Regions from separate parts of the Homo sapiens genome. Here all the other regions are linked to region 4. The links are contacts of gene promoters, found by promoter capture Hi-C in blood cells and fetal thymus (Javierre and others, 2016). All regions are on one chromosome and are shown on one strand. The core of a region is centred on a gene start or on the middle of the fragment in contact, and the rest is flanking DNA. Distances in the headings are between cores, read along the strand shown.

Evidence for each region. Contacts are between HindIII fragments. The CHiCAGO score rates a contact against its expected background, and 5 or more counts as called.
Region 1: a contact is called between a fragment that was not itself captured here and the fragment with the promoter of SOX2 in region 4, in 8 of 17 cell types (total B cells, monocytes, M0 macrophages and 5 more). The highest score is 9.1, in total B cells.
Region 2: a contact is called between a fragment that was not itself captured here and the fragment with the promoter of SOX2 in region 4, in 1 of 17 cell types (megakaryocytes). The highest score is 6.7, in megakaryocytes.
Region 3: a fragment that was not itself captured here is called in contact with the fragment with the promoter of SOX2 in region 4 in 8 of 17 cell types (monocytes, fetal thymus, M1 macrophages and 5 more); the score reaches 15.8 in monocytes.
Region 5: a fragment that was not itself captured here is called in contact with the fragment with the promoter of SOX2 in region 4 in 2 of 17 cell types (M0 macrophages and M2 macrophages); the score reaches 6.4 in M0 macrophages.

What each region holds. Positions count from the first base shown.
Region 1 is chr3:182,669,445-182,673,144 of GRCh38, forward strand. It overlaps LINC02031 (long intergenic non-protein coding RNA 2031), which reads left to right. Exons shown (of 5, transcript XR_427440.3): 5 at 2,637-3,700. Among named protein-coding and RNA genes, the nearest start is that of LINC02031, 27 kb to the left of the region's middle. The HindIII fragment of the contact is 5,620 bases long and covers 1-3,700 here.
Region 2 is chr3:182,234,569-182,238,292 of GRCh38, forward strand. No RefSeq gene overlaps it. Among named protein-coding and RNA genes, the nearest start is that of LINC01994, 250 kb to the right of the region's middle. The HindIII fragment of the contact is 2,664 bases long and covers 963-3,626 here.
Region 3 is chr3:182,689,295-182,692,840 of GRCh38, forward strand. No RefSeq gene overlaps it. Among named protein-coding and RNA genes, the nearest start is that of LINC02031, 47 kb to the left of the region's middle. The HindIII fragment of the contact is 9,217 bases long and covers 1-3,546 here.
Region 4 is chr3:181,709,761-181,713,731 of GRCh38, forward strand. SOX2 (SRY-box transcription factor 2) reads left to right here and starts at 2,165. Exons shown (of 1, transcript NM_003106.4): 1 at 2,165-3,971. The coding sequence starts at 2,601. The coding sequence ends at 3,554. The region is part of intron 6 of SOX2-OT (SOX2 overlapping transcript); the gene reads left to right. RefSeq lists enhancers at 594-1,447, 1,448-2,300, 2,301-3,154, 3,155-3,971, a promoter at 1,393-2,426 and a silencer at 2,006-2,065. The HindIII fragment of the contact is 18,528 bases long and covers 1-3,971 here.
Region 5 is chr3:182,645,323-182,649,322 of GRCh38, forward strand. The region is part of intron 3 of LINC02031 (long intergenic non-protein coding RNA 2031); the gene reads left to right. Among named protein-coding and RNA genes, the nearest start is that of LINC02031, 3.2 kb to the left of the region's middle. The HindIII fragment of the contact is 2,946 bases long and covers 1-2,756 here.

The sequences.
Region 1 (3,700 bases), core at 657-3,156, 960 kb after region 4:
GCTTGATTGATAGACAATATATTATATGCAATCAGACACATACATATACTACAATTATTGCTACTGAAAGTCTATTCAGATTCATTTGTTGTAAGATTAGACTTACAGTTTTCCAAGTTTGCCTTATGAAAGGAATTGAAAGAGGCCTTTGGAAATATTCAATATAATAGTTTGAAATATTCAGATTCCAAGACTTTCCCCTGGAAATTCTGACTCTGTTGATGTGGGTTGGAATCTGAGAATCTATTCTTTTTTAACAAGCATTCTAGATGATTCCAAGGTTTTCTCACAAATCTAAATGGGGTTTGTGGGCAAACTACTCTCTCAGTTCCTGCATATCAATGTATTTTTTTTTAATTCTTCATGACAAAAGAATATCTTAGCTGGGTATAGGACCCTTTCCCTTCTTTCAAAAAATGATGAGAGCTTACTAAGGGTCTGTTCTCAGTGACAGCAGTGAACAAACAAGTCCTCCATTCTTACAGTGCCCATATTCTAGTGGGAAAAAGAGATACAATAAACAAACACAGGTAAGCAGATAAGTGCTATAACTTATAGGAAATAAAGTGAATAAGGCAGATAGAGAATGACCCAGAAGAGAGTTGCCATTTTATTAAAATGTAGGGGGTTAGAGAAGGCCTCCTTGATAAGATAATACCTGAACAAAGACCTGAGGAAGGGAGGGAGCCATGTGGAGTTGGGCAAAGTGTGTTCTAGGCCAGATGCAAGGCAGGTGTTGTGACTGGCGGGTGTGAGCAAGGGGAGAAGGATCAGAGACTGTTCAAAAGGAAAGGAGATGCCAGGTGCGGTGGCTTATACCTGTAATCCCAGCACTTTGGGAGGCTGAGGCAGGTGGATCACAAGGTCTAGACATCGAGACTGTCCTGCCCAACATGGTAAAACCTCATCTCTACTAAAAATACAAAAATTAGCTGGGCGTGGTGGCGTGCGCCTGTAGTCCCAGCTACTCAGAAGGCTGAGGCAGGAGAATCACTTGAGTCCAGGAGGCGGAGGTTGTAGTGAGCCGAGATTGTGCCATTGCATTCCAGCCTGGGTGACAAGAGCGAAACTGTCTCAAAAAAAAGAAAGAAAGAAAGAAAGAGGAAGGAAAAAGGAAGGAAGGAAGGTAGGAAGGAAGGAAGGAGGGAGGGAAGGAGGGAGGGAGGGAAAGAAGGAAGGAAGGAAGGAAGGAAGGAAGGAAGGAAGGAAGGAAGGAAGGAAGGAAGGAAGGAAGGAAGGAAGGAAAGGACAGAGAGAGAGAGAAAAGGAGAGATGGGAACCTCTAAGGGGTCTTGAGCACGGAAGTGTTGTGATGGGACCATTGTGATCTGAATGTCCAGGTGAGAGATCACGGTGGCTTGAATCCACTATTTGGAGCAAAGTTTCACTGGTTTCTTGCCTTTTTCTCTCAGATAAATTAGATTACGATGATTTCATCTCAGTTTTCTGTAGAGGCTATATGTCATTGCCTTCCGGCTTCCATGTTTCAAATGAAAAGAAGAACGACACGCTACCTCTTTTCACTTTTTTAAGTAACTTGTCCTTTCTGTTTGGAGACTTATAAGACTTTCCTGTTTATCCTTGAACTAATATTTACAATGAAGCAGACAAAGTCTGTAGGATAGAGTTAAGTTGTCAGATCAAGGTCAGAAAAACACAAAATTGGCGATAAGAAAACAATTGGAAGCCCTGAACCTGAGCACATAGACCAAAATGGGCTAAGGGCAAAAATTCAGATTTTGAAGGAAGTTCCTGGGGCCTTTACGTGGCTGTAGGGCAGCTGCCCTTCCCCAGTCAGCCTCAGCTCAAGCCAGTTAACCTTAGATCCCAGCCCCCAAGCTGCACTAACATCCTACATCTTATGCCTTTACTATCACTTTCCTTTGCAAAAAAAAAAACAAAAAAACACGTGGTCAGAGTTATACTTGGGACCATTTCACTGGCCACATATGTTGACAAATTTAAATTCTGTACGTCTACTTTCATCTCTATTCATAAGCATCTGTTCTAGATACTTACTTAGTACTTAGATAGATCTAAGTATCTATTCACTATATCTGTGGCCCTGAAAGAACTTGGATATATTTATTCAAATGTATAAGTAGAAATTCTGCTTTATTTAGATGCATTTCTTGATTTTTTATTTCATATTTGGCTAAAAGCTGAGTTCATTCATGTCTATAAAAAGTCGATCTCATTTTGGATGTAAGCAGGGAAGAGCCTTGAAGAAAGTATTTATGCCTTGTGCTATTTGGTGGGGGGAGGGGTAGAAGGAGCAGGGAAGCCTGGCTGAATAAAGGGTAAGTGAGAGAAATGAGACAAGGCTCCTCCATCTCCTGTGGAGGGTGAGTTAGAGCACAGACTCAGGAAACTATGTCAAGAAATGAGCGAGTGTCTAATGGGAGATTGCTGTAGGAAAGCAAATGACTGTAATATCTGATAATGATCCACAGAAAGATAAAAGTGTGATAAGGACAAATCACTTCTTATTCTATTCTTTATGTCCTTCCCTCCTCTGCCTCCTCAGCTAGTAGAATCTGCCTTGCTCCCACTCCCTCCCTGTCGCCCACAATCTCTGCATTTTTTTCTCTCATCCATTCTATGAATATCTTCATCTGCTATTTCTGTGGTTTCAGATGAAGAAATACTTCAGTGCATGCCGTGTGCAGCCTAGAAGTTACATATGCAATTGTAGATGAAGCTAACTGACCAGGCGACACCAGGAGGAGCACGAGGACCAAGAGAACTAAGTGGGCAAGATGCCCAGGCAGTGGACAGAAAACAGAGAACAACAACATCCAAAGAGCCACCTGGAGAACAGATGGGGACCGGGGACCAGAATGCTCTTCCTAAATCAAATAGAAAACAGGAAGGCTGTCCAAAGATTTGGGGGGCCAGGAGAGTGAGCAATACAGAAGGGATTGTGACCACCAAGCTCCCTTTCTAGAGAATGTGTCCAAAGCAGGTCCAGGCAGACTGGGGGTGGGAGAGGAGAATTCACATTAAATATTTATAATGTGCACAATGAGTTCTAGTGGGAAATCTCAGAAGATGCCACCATTTCCAACTTTAAAATACCCTTCTTCTTCAATGTCTGTGTGTGTTTTTAGGAATCCAAATACAATAAAATATTCATCATGGAGAGTTTTTGATGGTAAAAGAGTATCCCAGGGAATATCTTCTGATGTTGTATCGTCACCCTTTGTGGAATTTTCTCCCTCTCACTTCATTCTTTATTGGGTTGGAATTGGGATAAAAGAGTAGAGTGGGTCATAAGGTCCTGTTCCAAGTAATTAGAGAGTTTTTTCTTTTATCTAAATGTGCCTTGTTAAAGTATATCAGTGTCAGCCAGGTTAATTGGAACTTTAATACATAATTGATGCTAATTTATGGCTCTTTTTGTTCCAGGATGCTACTGCAGACCTTAAAGTCAGGATACAGTTTTCTTGTTATTAATTATATACAGAAAGCCAATATCCCCTATGAGAAGAGACTCATGTCATCTGTAGCTTATTAAAGATACAGTATGTCAGCCATAGGTCACTTTTACTGCTTATGCCCCCAGTAAACTCCACATTACTCCATAATAACATAATACACTAATCACAGTAAATAAAAATTAGAATTTTAAGTTAAAGCTCATAGCATACTGTATATTAAAATGTTAACATACAATGTTTTAAAAAGTGTCATGTTTCTA
Region 2 (3,724 bases), core at 1,045-3,544, 520 kb after region 4:
ACAGATACTCTTAATGTTATTGTTAGTGTTTGAAAGTGTGTAATAGTGATAGAAGAGATCTACTACTTTCATTCAGGTGGTCTCCAGGAACAACATTAATTTGGAAAGTGATGTGTAAATGCCACATGTTTACTTATAAAATCTCTGTTCATTTGTATTCTATTCAGTGCAGGTTACATGGTTTGGATCTTTTTGTTAGTGACATCTTGACTCTGGGTTGAGATTATTTGAGAGATAACTTACCAGCCTATAGCAGGTATTATTGGGTTTACTTTGTCCTTATCAGACTTAGGAGAAATAAAATAAACTTCCTTCTATAGTTACTGGTGCAAAGATTGATCTATAGTCACTAATCATCTTCATGTGATGAATTCTTAGGGCAAAAACAGAAACGTTTACTCACAGTTTGCTTGATACCAGAGCTGAAGTAACTTGATTATTCTTTTCTGGTTTAAAACATGTTTTAAATGACCAAATGAAAGAAAAAAGCAATTAGTAGTACTTTTTTTTTGCATTACACAATACTAGATGAGTAATACGTTAAGACTTTTGTACAAATATGTCTAGAAGGACACTCATTTGTAATAATTAGTTAATAGAACATTCAGCAACAAAATGTTCTGTTGGGAGACACACTTTAATTTTTTCCAAATCTCATGTTCATAATTGTCCCCCACTGTTACCAAATAAATTATATTGTTAGAGCAATACACTAAAAAACACAACACATCTTTGTTACGGAAAACATTTAACAGTCAAGTTGAATTTCATAAAATATTTTATGACTAAAGTTGAGGGAAAAGGCACAAAGAAACAACACAAATGAAATTTAAATTTAATGAATATTCTGTTGTTGCCTGCCAGAGGGAATAAATATTTTCATATTCATTTTCTCTTTTAAGTATACCTGGTAACTGTGTAACTTTCCCCTCCTCACTTCTATTTGGTTCTCTTATTCATTAAGCTTTACTTAGGTAGAGGACCACACAAACATACCAGCATTTTGCTAAGTTGCACACAGCCACGTTAGAGGGAAATAGTAATTGATCTGTAGCTCCTAGATATCTGGCTGTTGATCTCAGTCATACACAGAGATTCTCAGTCATACCCAGGAAACAAAAGGTCCAGAACAGTAGGGCTTTCTTTTGAAAGTAGCTGTATGCTGGCTATTAAATGTTGAGGCTGGTTCTATGCAAGGAAATAGTTGTATTTGCTCCTCCAAGGAAACCCCTTGTATTTGTCGCATTCCTACACTGAGAAAAGCATTCTGGTGCTTTCTGAGATAATCATATGCTTCTCAGGGTTTTGTTATGATTTTTCTATTAAGGCCAACTACGCGTAATATTGGTGGGCATGGCTTAGATCTGATCAAAGTTGTGGTAATACACAATAATGTCTAAACCCTTTTTGATACCCTGCTGTAAAAATGGGGATGAGAAATACCATTTACTGAAGACCTGCTCTGTGACAGGCACTGCATATATTGCAGATACTGCAAATATATTACATAAACTATCACACCACAACAACCTCATGAGCTAGATACCATTATTTTCCTTCCCATTATGCAGATAAAGAAACTGAGACTCAGATGTATTAACTTTCCAAAATTGTTTGAATTGAGACCTTACACAACTCTGATTAACTTGCCAACCGATACCTAAAAATAAAAGCCTCAGTTGGGTGGAAAAGCTCTGAAAAGCATTTTCGTTCAAGACAGTTCAACAAACTACTGTAACTGGAAAATTTTTCAGTTTGAATAAGTCACTTGTTTAAAACATGGGATGATTCCTGACCTTGCTTAAAGTGCTGATAGAGTGGCCAGCCTGTGTTTTCGGCTGCTGCACCAGGTAAATGGAAGTCCACTCACCACTCACTGTGTGTGACAGTCTATTTTTTTCCCACCGTGGAGTTTTTATGTTGATGCTTCTCTAAAACTCTTTTTTCAGAGTGTGAGCAGGATAAAAATATAAAAATACAAGGATACAATAGTGTTTTAAGAAACACCCTATTTGTTGTTCAATGTTCAAAGTTTTTTCATGGCCAGCAAATACAGCATGTTTTGTTAAGTCTTCCAGAAACATCCAAGTCCTGGATTACTTGTATATGAAGATTGGTTATATACAAGCATATACTTATTTGATTCACCAATAAGACCAAATAATTTGATTCCCACATAGACAAAATTCTCCTAAAATGCAATTCAGGATAATCATTCCTTCTCAGACTTTATTTTTTCCCTCCTGTTAAAACCAAAATGCAAACAGGACTGGGGGAAAATTCTCTAGTCCAAATAGACACGCAACATGCAAACTGCTGTTGCAGTTTTGCAGACTGCTGTTAAAAATGGCACCATACATAGGTATACTTAAAGTAAAATTTAAAAAAGTTCATGGAAAACAAAACTAGAACAAACATTTTCATAGCACACTAAAAATAAATAAATAAATATATATATAAATAAATAAAAGGCACCATTAAAAAATCACAGCTCCTAGAGGCAGATAAAACCTCAGACTGGGTTTAGTCAAGCAGGATACCGAGAAAATTTTTTCAAGGTTTTGGTAATTTTACTTCCTTTTTGTCTGCCTACAAGACTTCCTTCTACCTCAATGAGTGTTTATTATTATTACTATTATCATTTAACATAACTGACACAATTAGTCTTTTGAAAGAACAATAATGAGATGGACAAGTGGGTCTCTGGCTTTTGGAGAGGGTTATTAATAAGTCATTTGACACTAATAGACTGGAAAAATAATTTGTGGCCCATGTAAGTGATAAAATATCCTTAATTTGAAGACATTGCTTATAGCAAATGTTTAGGAGTTGAGAACCCACAGGACTGTTCAATAATGATATTGAGTCTAAATGCAATTGTAATAAGTAATCTGTTGTTATAATGATACCAGTTCCCATTTATTGAGGGCTTACTATGCACAAAGCACTGTTCTAAGCACTGGCATGCATTATCTCATTATACTTCACAACAGTCTCTATGAGAGAGTACTATTATTGACCCCACTCTACAGATGGTGAAAACAAGGCTTAGAGAGATCATCACTTGCTCAGTGCTACAGAGTCAGTTGTTAAGCTGAGATTTAAACCCAGATCTCTTTTACCCCAAAACCTGTTGGACTAATCTACAACACAACTTTGCCTTCTGTACTCTGAATCCTAAAATAGTCAAGCTGAAAGCAACCTCTGAGACTGCAGTCCAGCCTCTTTCTTGTACATATGAGAAAATTGAAGTTTTAAAAAGGAACTATGTCTTTCTCATCACCCTAATAACAAATTGGTGACTGAGCAGGCCTAGAACTCAGGTCTCTTGCCTTCAATTCCAGATAGAATGCCATTCTATCATTTAACAAAATTTGCATGACCCAGGAGACTAGAAGACTAGCTCTGCAGTTTAACACACACACACACACACACACACACACACACACACACACACACACACCAGATAAAATACCAAAGAGCTAAATTCAGGTTGCTTCTGTGTTTTCTAACTTGCAGCTGCTTCATTGCAGGATCATACAACACATGATGCGACAGGGACTTAAAGCCACACATAAAACATATTAAATGTAGTCAGCAGTGATGAGATTTGGTACCAAATAAGAAGCTTTAATTAATTTTAAATGGTGCTTTTCATAGTGTCAAAAGCTCAGTCCACTGAAGTGGAAAAGGGGGTTGGAATGGCCAGATCCTAGCAACCCAG
Region 3 (3,546 bases), core at 70-2,569, 980 kb after region 4:
ATAGACATTTTAAACCCATATATATATAAGAAAATTGCCTCAAAATCATTATAGGATATTTTAACACACCTCTAGTAATTATTGACAGCTTAGAAGATAGGAAATTAATATAGATAAACAATATTTAAACAATATACATAAAAAGGGATTGGTATTAATATAATTAACATATTTAGAATTGTGCCCCTAAACAACTAGAGAATACACATTCTTCTCAACACAGAAGCAATGTTTTCAAAAATCAACCACTTAAACGCAGCCACACAGCAAGTCTGAACACATCTCAAAGGATAAGTATCATAAATACCATATTCTCTGGCAACAATACCATCTAAAAGGAAAAAAATAATAACACAGATTTGATGGACGACTTCAAGCCACACATTCGAGAAGTTTTAATCAGAATAACTACAAAGAAAACTATAACCTAGCACATCAGCATAAAACAGCTGAAAACCAAAAACAAGAAGCAAATTTTTAAAGCAGTCAAAAGAGATACTATCTTCAAAGAAGCAACAGTAAAATAAGCAGCCATCTTCTCAACAGAAACCATGAATGTCAGAAGACATGTGCTAAAAGAAAATAACAATAATGTAGCGTTTCATATTCACCAAGAATACCCTTCCAAGGTAAAAGCAAAAGAAAGATAGTTTCAGACCTACAAAGTATGGGTGAATTTGTCACTAACAGGCCTGCATTACGGGAAATGCTAAAGGGCATTCTTCAGGCAGAAGTAAATGGTCGGTAGTCCCAGATGGAAGCTCAAAGGTGCAAGAAGAAATGAAAACCAAAAGAGAAAATAATATAGAAGTAAATATAAATGAATATTTACAATATAAAACAATAAGAATATTGCTTTGTGGGGATAGAGATATAGATATGACAGTAATAGCACAGAAGTCAACAGAACAAGTAGAATGAAAATGTTTTTCAGTGTTTGTGATTAACACAGCCGTTCTCAAAGTGTAGTCTCCAGGTCTGCGTTTGCATCACCAGTGTCACTTAGGAAATTGTTGGAAATGCAAATTCTCATGCCTCAACCCATGCCTGCTGAATCAGAAACCCTGATGACAGAACCCAGCAATCTGTGCTTTAACAAACCCTTAAGGCAATTCTGATGCATGTTCAAGTTTGAGAACCACTGGCCTGGGAAATAACAAAAGTGACAATTTACATGGATGTTTAATAAATTGAGTAACATGTTGTTATCTCTATGGCAACCACTAAAAAGTCATAAAATAATATATAATTACTTAACCAAGGAAGAGGGGACTACAATAATAAAAAATACTTAATCAACATAAAAGGCAAGAACTTTGAAAAATGAGCAGAGGCAATTCAGTGGAGAAAGGACAGTCTTTTCAACAAATGGTGCTGGAACAACTGGGGATATGAAAAAAAAAAAAATCCTAGACACAGATCTTACACCTTTCACAAAATTTGACTCTAAGCAGATCATAAACCTAAACATTAAAACACTAAACTGTAAAACTTCTAGAAGATAACATAGGATAAAATAGAGGTGACTTTGGGTTTAGTGGTGTGTTTTTAGATACAACACTAAAAGCACAATCCATGAAAAAAATTAGCAAGTCAGACTTTATTAAAATTAAAAACTCTTCAAAACACACTTTGCCATTGATGGCATCTGTAAGACTCAAGGCAAAAGGAAATACAGAAGTACTCTAGTTGATAAAGTTTTTCCCCATAGAGGTATGGATTAAGAATTCTAGTACTGCCTGATACTGCTATACATGTATACAGGAATTGAACAATTAAGTAAATGGATAGCAGATGATAGGAGGCAGTTTTCTCACTGTTGAAGTAGGAATTTATAGATAAGGAAAAGGAGGGGGGTAGAATGATGTATGTGGTAATGGATTCAAACTAGAAACATCAGTAAAAACTTCTTTAATAATTAACAATATGGAAACAGATGGTTACACATAGAAATATTTATAAATATGTGTATATATACAAGGTAGTATACATACATATATTTCATTGCTCTGTCAGGTGAGAAGCCTGCAAAAAAAAACTACATCTCAATAGCAATGAACACACCTAGCACCCAGATCTTGGTTCCCAACATCATTCTCCAGAATAAAGGAACCAGGGCTCCTTGCAGAAATGAGTGACTATGACTGGGGCAGGAAATACACAAGATTAGCCTGGGGTGTCTTATAGTGCTACAAGTAAGAAACTGCATTCTCTCTCCCTTACTCTGTCTCTCTTCTTCTCTCTCTCTCTCTCCCTCTCTCACACACACACACACACACACACACACACACACACACAAATTAATGAGAGTATCTCAAAGGGGCTCAGGACCAAAAAGCTCCCAATGGCCAAAGCTAGAAGGATTTAAGCAATGAAATAAATAGTTTGGGATTAGAGCCCAGAGTATAAAACGCATATCCATGAGCTCAGATCTGATATAAATATATGATTAAGTAAGTTAATAAACACAGGAAAAGAAACAAATATTCAGTACAAAAAAAGAATTCCAAATAAATTATACCGATATGGTGACTAGCTCGGCCAGGCTTGGTGACTACACTGGCCCGGCTACACCGTTCCACACCTCCCACTGTCGGACTGGGCTGCTACCTCTGTGCCTGCCAGTCATGTTATTAATACTACTGCCACTGCTGTCACTGCTGCTGCTGCTGCTGGGATCTGGCCCTGGGTCCCGCCAGGCCTCCAAGAGGTCACACGTGCACCGACGTGGGATCCTGGAACTGGCAGGAACTGTGGGTTGTATTGACTCCTGAACCCCACTTACCTATATGAAATACAGTTGCTACTGTGGCCTGGGAGGCCATGGCCAGCACCGGGATGCCATTGACTGGACCAGCAGAGAACAAATGCCAAAAGCTCTTGTGCAAGTGTGACCAGGAGATTGCTAACTGCTTAGCCCGAACTGAGTACAACTGAAAGTACCTCTTCTACCCCCAGTTTCTGTGAAAGCAGGACTCGCCCAAGTGCGACTGGCTAGCTTGACTTGAAGTGCTCCTTTGCACAAAGAAATAAAGCTCCTTCTCGCTAATGAAAAAGTATTATATTGATACTTCACCCTAATGGAGGGGGAGCAAAACTTGCCACTCCTTAAGGGCTATGTATAAGGAACTTCCATCCAAGGAGTACAGTTAGAAGAGGGAAATTTAAGTGAGTATTTTTAAGATAGGGACACTCAAGAAACAGTAACCCAACCAAGTGATCAAGGTCAATATCAACCATCATAAATCACATTGATAATCTTGATATTATGTGTGATGAAAATGGCACTTCTCTTCTATAATAAACCCATAACCCCAGTCTAATTGTGAGAAAAACATCTGTGAACCTAAATAACAGAGAGGGAGACTCTCTAAAAGAAAATGATGTTTATTTGGGAATAAGCATTGCCATGGCAATAAGCAGCCCATAGTAAACCATATGAGTATTCAGGGAAGTAACAGAAGAAAAAGGCTTTTAGAGGAAAAATGAGGATTATACAATTGTTATGACACTATTATCCTTGGCTACAGGATCAGTAAGAAGAGT
Region 4 (3,971 bases), core at 915-3,414:
CTTCTCTTCCCCAGATCTTCTCAACCTTTTCTCTTTCCTAATCTCCAGGTCCGTGTTTACCTTAATATTACACCTGGATTAAACAGAAAACAGTGCTGTATTTTGAAGAGCGCCGAATATGTATGCATTTTGAGAAACCCAATCTCACCCTTTCCGGGTTCCCAAGAACTAAAACAAGCCATAACTTGAGAGAAAAAGGAGAACCTTCGGGGGGCAGGAAGGTTGATTGGAAATAACTTAAGGAAAGTCTGCAGAATTCTTTTTTTTACAACTTTTCTGAGTTTCCAGTGGGTATATTTAGTGTGAGTTTGACAGTAACAGGCTAGGGAGGGCAGAGATTGGAGAAATTGGGGGTCGGGGGAGTGATTATGGGAAGAAGGTTAGTAAGGAACAAAACAATGCACCGTTTTGTAAAGATAATAAATGGAACGTGGCTGGTAGATACTATTCAGTACATTTTCTTAGGGTGAGTAAGGGTAGACCAGGGGAGGAGGGGGCGGAGAGAGTGTTACAGAAGAAAGAAAATAAGTAACCCTGATGGTTTAAGCCCTTTATAAAAAAGAAATGGCATCAGGTTTTTTTTTCTTTATTCCCCCCCACCCCACCCTTTGTAGTCAAGTGCATTTTAGCCACAAAGATCCCAACAAGAGAGTGGAAGGAAACTTAGACGAGGCTTTGTTTGACTCCGTGTAGCGACAACAAGAGAAACAAAACTACCTATTTGTAACGGACGTGCTGCCATTGCCCTCCGCATTGAGCGCCTACCTATTGAAATCTTTACGTCGGGACAATGGGAGAGCGGCTAAAATTACCCTCTTGGGTCCTGGGCGGGCAAGATTCCTGAGCCCCTACCCCCGCCCCCATCTCATCCTCCTCTAACCCGGGCCTTGCTGGGCTCCCCCTTCCCCAGTCCCGGCCGCCTTCTCCCAGTGTGCGCTGCCTGCACCTGTGCCTGGAGAGCATCGACCCCGCCTCCCAGGCCTTGAGCCCCTTTGCGGCGCAGCCCCAGCCTTGCGCGGCCTGGGCTTTGCGGCCACCACAATGGAAATCTACGGGGAAAATGCCAGGGCTGGTTCTGCTGGAGTCCTGGGAACTCTGCGTGGGAGGGAGTTTGTGACTGCGGCCCAAAAGCCACCTCCATACAGTGCCGTGGGATGCCAGGAAGTTGAAATCACCCTCCCCCATCGCCTGCACTTTTGAGCGCCCTTCCGTCTGTGTCTTTCCCCAGCCCCCATTTGAAAGCCGCACGACCGAAACCCTTCTTACGGGGAGGCATGGGATGGGAATGGGGAGTGGGGGCAGACAGTAGAAGCATCCCCTTTGCTACGGTTGAATGAAGACAGTCTAGTGGGAGATGTGGCTGGGGCTAAGAGGAAGAGCTGCAGTTTCCTGGGCCAAAGAGCTGAGTTGGACAGGGAGATGGCAGCTTACCAAGGCCTGCTGGTTCTCAGCTCTAGAGTCTGCCTTATGGTCCGAGCAGGATTTATTTTTAAGAACAGAGCAAGTTACGTGGAAGCAAGGAAGGTTTTGAGGACAGAGGTTTGGGTCTCCTAACTTCTAGTCGGGACTGTGAGAAGGGCGTGAGAGAGTGTTGGCACCTGTAAGGTAAGAGAGGAGAGCGGAAGAGCGCAGTACGGGAGCGGCACCAGAGGGGCTGGAGTTGGGGGGGAGTGCTGTGGATGAGCGGGAGAACAATGACACACCAACTCCTGCACTGGCTGTTTCCAGAAATACGAGTTGGACAGCCGCCCTGAGCCACCCACTGTGCCCTGCCCCACCCCCGCACCTTAGCTGCTTCCCGCGTCCCATCCTCATTTAAGTACCCTGCACCAAAAAGTAAATCAATATTAAGTTTAAAGAAAAAAAAACCCACGTAGTCTTAGTGCTGTTTACCCACTTCCTTCGAAAAGGCGTGTGGTGTGACCTGTTGCTGCGAGAGGGGATACAAAGGTTTCTCAGTGGCTGGCAGGCTGGCTCTGGGAGCCTCCTCCCCCTCCTCGCCTGCCCCCTCCTCCCCCGGCCTCCCCCGCGCGGCCGGCGGCGCGGGAGGCCCCGCCCCCTTTCATGCAAAACCCGGCAGCGAGGCTGGGCTCGAGTGGAGGAGCCGCCGCGCGCTGATTGGTCGCTAGAAACCCATTTATTCCCTGACAGCCCCCGTCACATGGATGGTTGTCTATTAACTTGTTCAAAAAAGTATCAGGAGTTGTCAAGGCAGAGAAGAGAGTGTTTGCAAAAGGGGGAAAGTAGTTTGCTGCCTCTTTAAGACTAGGACTGAGAGAAAGAAGAGGAGAGAGAAAGAAAGGGAGAGAAGTTTGAGCCCCAGGCTTAAGCCTTTCCAAAAAATAATAATAACAATCATCGGCGGCGGCAGGATCGGCCAGAGGAGGAGGGAAGCGCTTTTTTTGATCCTGATTCCAGTTTGCCTCTCTCTTTTTTTCCCCCAAATTATTCTTCGCCTGATTTTCCTCGCGGAGCCCTGCGCTCCCGACACCCCCGCCCGCCTCCCCTCCTCCTCTCCCCCCGCCCGCGGGCCCCCCAAAGTCCCGGCCGGGCCGAGGGTCGGCGGCCGCCGGCGGGCCGGGCCCGCGCACAGCGCCCGCATGTACAACATGATGGAGACGGAGCTGAAGCCGCCGGGCCCGCAGCAAACTTCGGGGGGCGGCGGCGGCAACTCCACCGCGGCGGCGGCCGGCGGCAACCAGAAAAACAGCCCGGACCGCGTCAAGCGGCCCATGAATGCCTTCATGGTGTGGTCCCGCGGGCAGCGGCGCAAGATGGCCCAGGAGAACCCCAAGATGCACAACTCGGAGATCAGCAAGCGCCTGGGCGCCGAGTGGAAACTTTTGTCGGAGACGGAGAAGCGGCCGTTCATCGACGAGGCTAAGCGGCTGCGAGCGCTGCACATGAAGGAGCACCCGGATTATAAATACCGGCCCCGGCGGAAAACCAAGACGCTCATGAAGAAGGATAAGTACACGCTGCCCGGCGGGCTGCTGGCCCCCGGCGGCAATAGCATGGCGAGCGGGGTCGGGGTGGGCGCCGGCCTGGGCGCGGGCGTGAACCAGCGCATGGACAGTTACGCGCACATGAACGGCTGGAGCAACGGCAGCTACAGCATGATGCAGGACCAGCTGGGCTACCCGCAGCACCCGGGCCTCAATGCGCACGGCGCAGCGCAGATGCAGCCCATGCACCGCTACGACGTGAGCGCCCTGCAGTACAACTCCATGACCAGCTCGCAGACCTACATGAACGGCTCGCCCACCTACAGCATGTCCTACTCGCAGCAGGGCACCCCTGGCATGGCTCTTGGCTCCATGGGTTCGGTGGTCAAGTCCGAGGCCAGCTCCAGCCCCCCTGTGGTTACCTCTTCCTCCCACTCCAGGGCGCCCTGCCAGGCCGGGGACCTCCGGGACATGATCAGCATGTATCTCCCCGGCGCCGAGGTGCCGGAACCCGCCGCCCCCAGCAGACTTCACATGTCCCAGCACTACCAGAGCGGCCCGGTGCCCGGCACGGCCATTAACGGCACACTGCCCCTCTCACACATGTGAGGGCCGGACAGCGAACTGGAGGGGGGAGAAATTTTCAAAGAAAAACGAGGGAAATGGGAGGGGTGCAAAAGAGGAGAGTAAGAAACAGCATGGAGAAAACCCGGTACGCTCAAAAAGAAAAAGGAAAAAAAAAAATCCCATCACCCACAGCAAATGACAGCTGCAAAAGAGAACACCAATCCCATCCACACTCACGCAAAAACCGCGATGCCGACAAGAAAACTTTTATGAGAGAGATCCTGGACTTCTTTTTGGGGGACTATTTTTGTACAGAGAAAACCTGGGGAGGGTGGGGAGGGCGGGGGAATGGACCTTGTATAGATCTGGAGGAAAGAAAGCTACGAAAAACTTTTTAAAAGTTCTAGTGGTACGGTAGGAGCTTTGCAGGAAGTTTGCAAAAGTCTTTACCAATAATAT
Region 5 (4,000 bases), core at 34-2,533, 930 kb after region 4:
TCCTATACCCCAACCTCTACTGCAGCCTCCAATTCTCACTGCTTTATACAGTGAGAAACAAAATAATTCTTGGTTTTCTCTTGTTTCCAAAGGCCCAGTTTTGGGGTTGTTTTTTTTTTTTTTTTTTTTTTTTTTTGAGTCGGAGTCTCACTCTATTGCCCAGGCTCTGGAGTGCAGTGGCGCGATCTCGGCTTTCTGCAAGCCCTGCCTCCCGGGTTCACACCATTCTCCTGCCTCAGCCTCCCGAGTAGCTGGGACTATAGGTGCCTGCCGCCACGCCCAGCTATTTTTTTTTTTTTTTTTTTTTGTATTTTTAGTAGAGACAGGGTTTCACCGTGTTAGCCAGGATGGTCTCAATCTCCTGACCTCATGATCCACCCACCTCAGCCTCCCAAAGTGCTGGGATTACAGGCATGAGCCACCGCACCCGGCCCAAAGGCCCAGTTTTTAATAAACCATAGATTTGGAAAAACTAAGTGATTCCTTCTTTCTGCAGAGGATTTCCCACCTCTGCCTCCAAGCTCTTTAGGAACAAGAACCTTCTACAAGCTGAGAGAGTGAAACCAATAAGTTACATGCTGGTTTGGAAGCCCAGCTCCTGCCCTTTGGGGCCAACTCCCATTAAGAAGAGCTGGTGCGGGAGGAGGGAGATAGAACATCTGTGTAAGTTCCAGACTCCCTAAAGAAAGAGGACTTGAATCTCACTTGTTCTGAGAGGGTCTGCTGGTAGACTTGTAGAGTGTCAAGCCAGAATAAGGGGGTGCTGCAGGAAGGATACATACTGCATGCATCATCCCTTGGGATAGCTAAAAAGAATGCAATTATTTCTTAGGAGATTGCTGCTGTGGAGGACATGCCCAAAGACCAAACCGACCAGCTACATCTCATGGGAGATAGAATGAGATCTCAACCAGTCAAAATTGAGAAGGGCACGCCGTGCTCTCCTCCAAATCCAAAGTGGCATATTCACAAATCTCTGCAGTTTTCAAGATCAGTATCAGGAAGGAGAAAAGGAAGAAGAGGGAAAGCCCACAGTTACATAGGTGTAAATATGAAATGACTAATGTGATCGTCAAAGGAACAGAGTTGACATAGATATAATGGGACTAAATTTTTTATATCATAAAAAAGTTGGTTTATGATAAAATTTAAGTTCACTTACAGAAAAACAGGGAGAGCTACATTCTTGCTTTTTTGTGGGCTTTGAAATTCACAGGAAATATAAATATACTTACAAAAATATAAATATACTTACAAAAATATAAATACACTCACAACAAACATAAAACATCTAAAAAGGGGCCTCGTCCATAGGAGGTTCTGAAGAAATTGGCTTCCCTAAGCTGGATTATCTAAATTTTTATGCTAATACTTATCTCTAAAATCAGAGACATTTGTAACTTGGCTCCAGTAATGAGTAAGGCTTACTTTGAAAATGCAAACAAATCAATCAACAATCTTTATAACATCCAACAACAATAGAAGAAGAGCACTGTCCTTCCAGAAAGTGACACTGTGATTAGTAAAACAAGATAATGTCCATCATTACTAATGGCCATTGCCCTCATGGTAGTGAAGGTGGAACAGCAATATAAAACCCATAGGCTCTATCTCCCAAGCATACGCAAATCTCAGCCACTTCTCATCATTTCCATGACTGTCACCCCAATCCAAGCCACCATGTCTCACCTGGACATTGCCCAGTCTCCCTGCTTCTGCTCTTATCCCTATAGTCTGCTCTCAACATAGAGTGGCCCTTCCCTTTTAAGAGCATAAATAGGATTATGTTACTCTTCCCCTTAAAACACTCCGAAGTAGCTTAAGTCTCACCATCCTTTCCTTAAGAGTGAGCTTGATTCCAAAGAATAGAGTAGGAAAAGGTGAAAATAGTAACTTCATGGTGGAGAAATCTGGAAAACCTACCTCAACCAAGTGATGAAAGTTAACCTCACTAGAGACATCATATGGATGCAGGTACCTGTTGATATGATGTGATAAGAAGGGCACTCACTTCTGTATTCTTTCTGATGACTCATTGCCCTAGTCCAATCATAAGAAAAACAAAAGACAAACCCAGATTGGGAAGATTCTATGGGGTACCTGACTGCTATTCCTCAAGACAGTCAAGGTCATGAAAACAAGAAGACTGCCAAAGACCAGAGAAGACTGAGGAGGCATGGCAACTAAGTGCAATGTGGTACCATATATTGAATCCTGGAACAGAAAGAGGACACTGATGGAAAAACTAGCAAATCCAAATAAAACCTGACGTTTATTAACAGTAATAAGCCAATGTCAATATTCTAGTTTTAACAAATGAACCGCGGTAATGTATGATCTTAATAACAGGGGAAACTATATAAGGGATATACAGCAACTTTCCGGACTATCTTTATAACTTTTCTGTAAATCTAAATTGTTCCAAAATAAAAAGTTTCATTTTTAAAATTCATGCAGAAATGTAATTCTCTTTATATTTATGTAATCAACTTTAGCTTTTGATAGCCCATTTTCATAAACAACAAAAAACTTTCAGTGTTATCATTTCAGTACAAAATAACTTCCAGAATAAGATTTATTCATATTTAGTTTTTTTAAAAAAAAAAAAAAAAGATCCCAAAAGACTCCACACATCTCTGACAATCTCAGTTCCAAAGTTCTTACCAAAGTCTAGAATGTCCCAGGTGAACTGATGGGCCTGGCCACTCTTCCCTCTCCAGCATCCTTGCCTCTTCCTCACCTTGCTGTTCTTGAAAAGCTTCAAGCACATTCTTAGTTCAGGGCCTTTGCGTTTGCTATTCCCAGAAACCTACATGGTCCCATTTTTCTCAAACCTCTACTCAAATATCAATTTTTCTTTTTTAAGAACAAAACAGGTATACTTCTATTAGACCACCTGACACAGAAGTTAGTGTGGTATGGATGGACAGTATGAATGACAAATAATACAAATATATTTTATTTGAAATAAAAATGTGTACGCAGCTCAGTGGGTCACTTGGAAACAAACTCTTGCTTTGCTGTATTCAAAGAGGTTTTCCATGACTACACTTCAATAACACTCTGACCCTCATCCCCATCACTGCCCAGCCCTTTACCTTGCTTTATTTTTCTTCATACTTCAAATTACGTGACATTATATTATAGACTCATTTGGGTTTGCTTTTTTGGATTTTTTGTGGGTTTTGTTGTTGTTGTTGTTGCTTTTCTCCATGAGGAGAGGGATTTTGTCTGTTTTGCAGTCAAATGGTCTACCCCTGAGCTACACCCCCAAGATTTTTTCTGTTTTGATCACTGCTATAACCTCAGTACTTAGCAGTTCCTGGCACATGGTAAGAGTTTAATCTGTTAAATGAATGAATAAAAATAAAATCAGAGCAGTTCTTGCTGCAAACCATGTCTCTTCAGGTGGCTTTGGTTCATTTCAACTGGAAAACTGAGATTGCCTTCTGGGCCCAAAAGATACCTGATGATGGACATGCTTGATGTAAATGAAACAAAACCTCCTGCCTTGGACTAATTATAAGAAGCTATTTATAATTAGCTCATTGTTAAATTAATCAGCAAGCTGTTGCTACCTCAGGAATAAAGTTTAATTTCCCAAATGATTTTGGCACTGCTGATAAGCCCGTGGGCAATGGACAATATTTAACTGCCAGCAGACGTTAAAGAAAATGACTTGTTTGACTAAGATGCTGGTAAAATGTGTTAATGAAACATATCTTTTTAACTTATTGGCATGAATAAGCCATATTCCTTACTGTAATTATTTTTAGAATCAGAATAATCTAGATACTTCAAATTATACCCCCTACCCGATAGAACGTTCTGAAATTATAGAAATGTTCTATACCTTGATTGGGGTGGTGGTTACATAGGTAAACACATTTATCCAAGTTCATTGATTCACTTAAAACCAGTGCATTTAGCTATGCATAAATTTTACCTCAATTTTTTAAGTGTATCCCTATATTGGTGATAATTTCATTGTCTACAACCC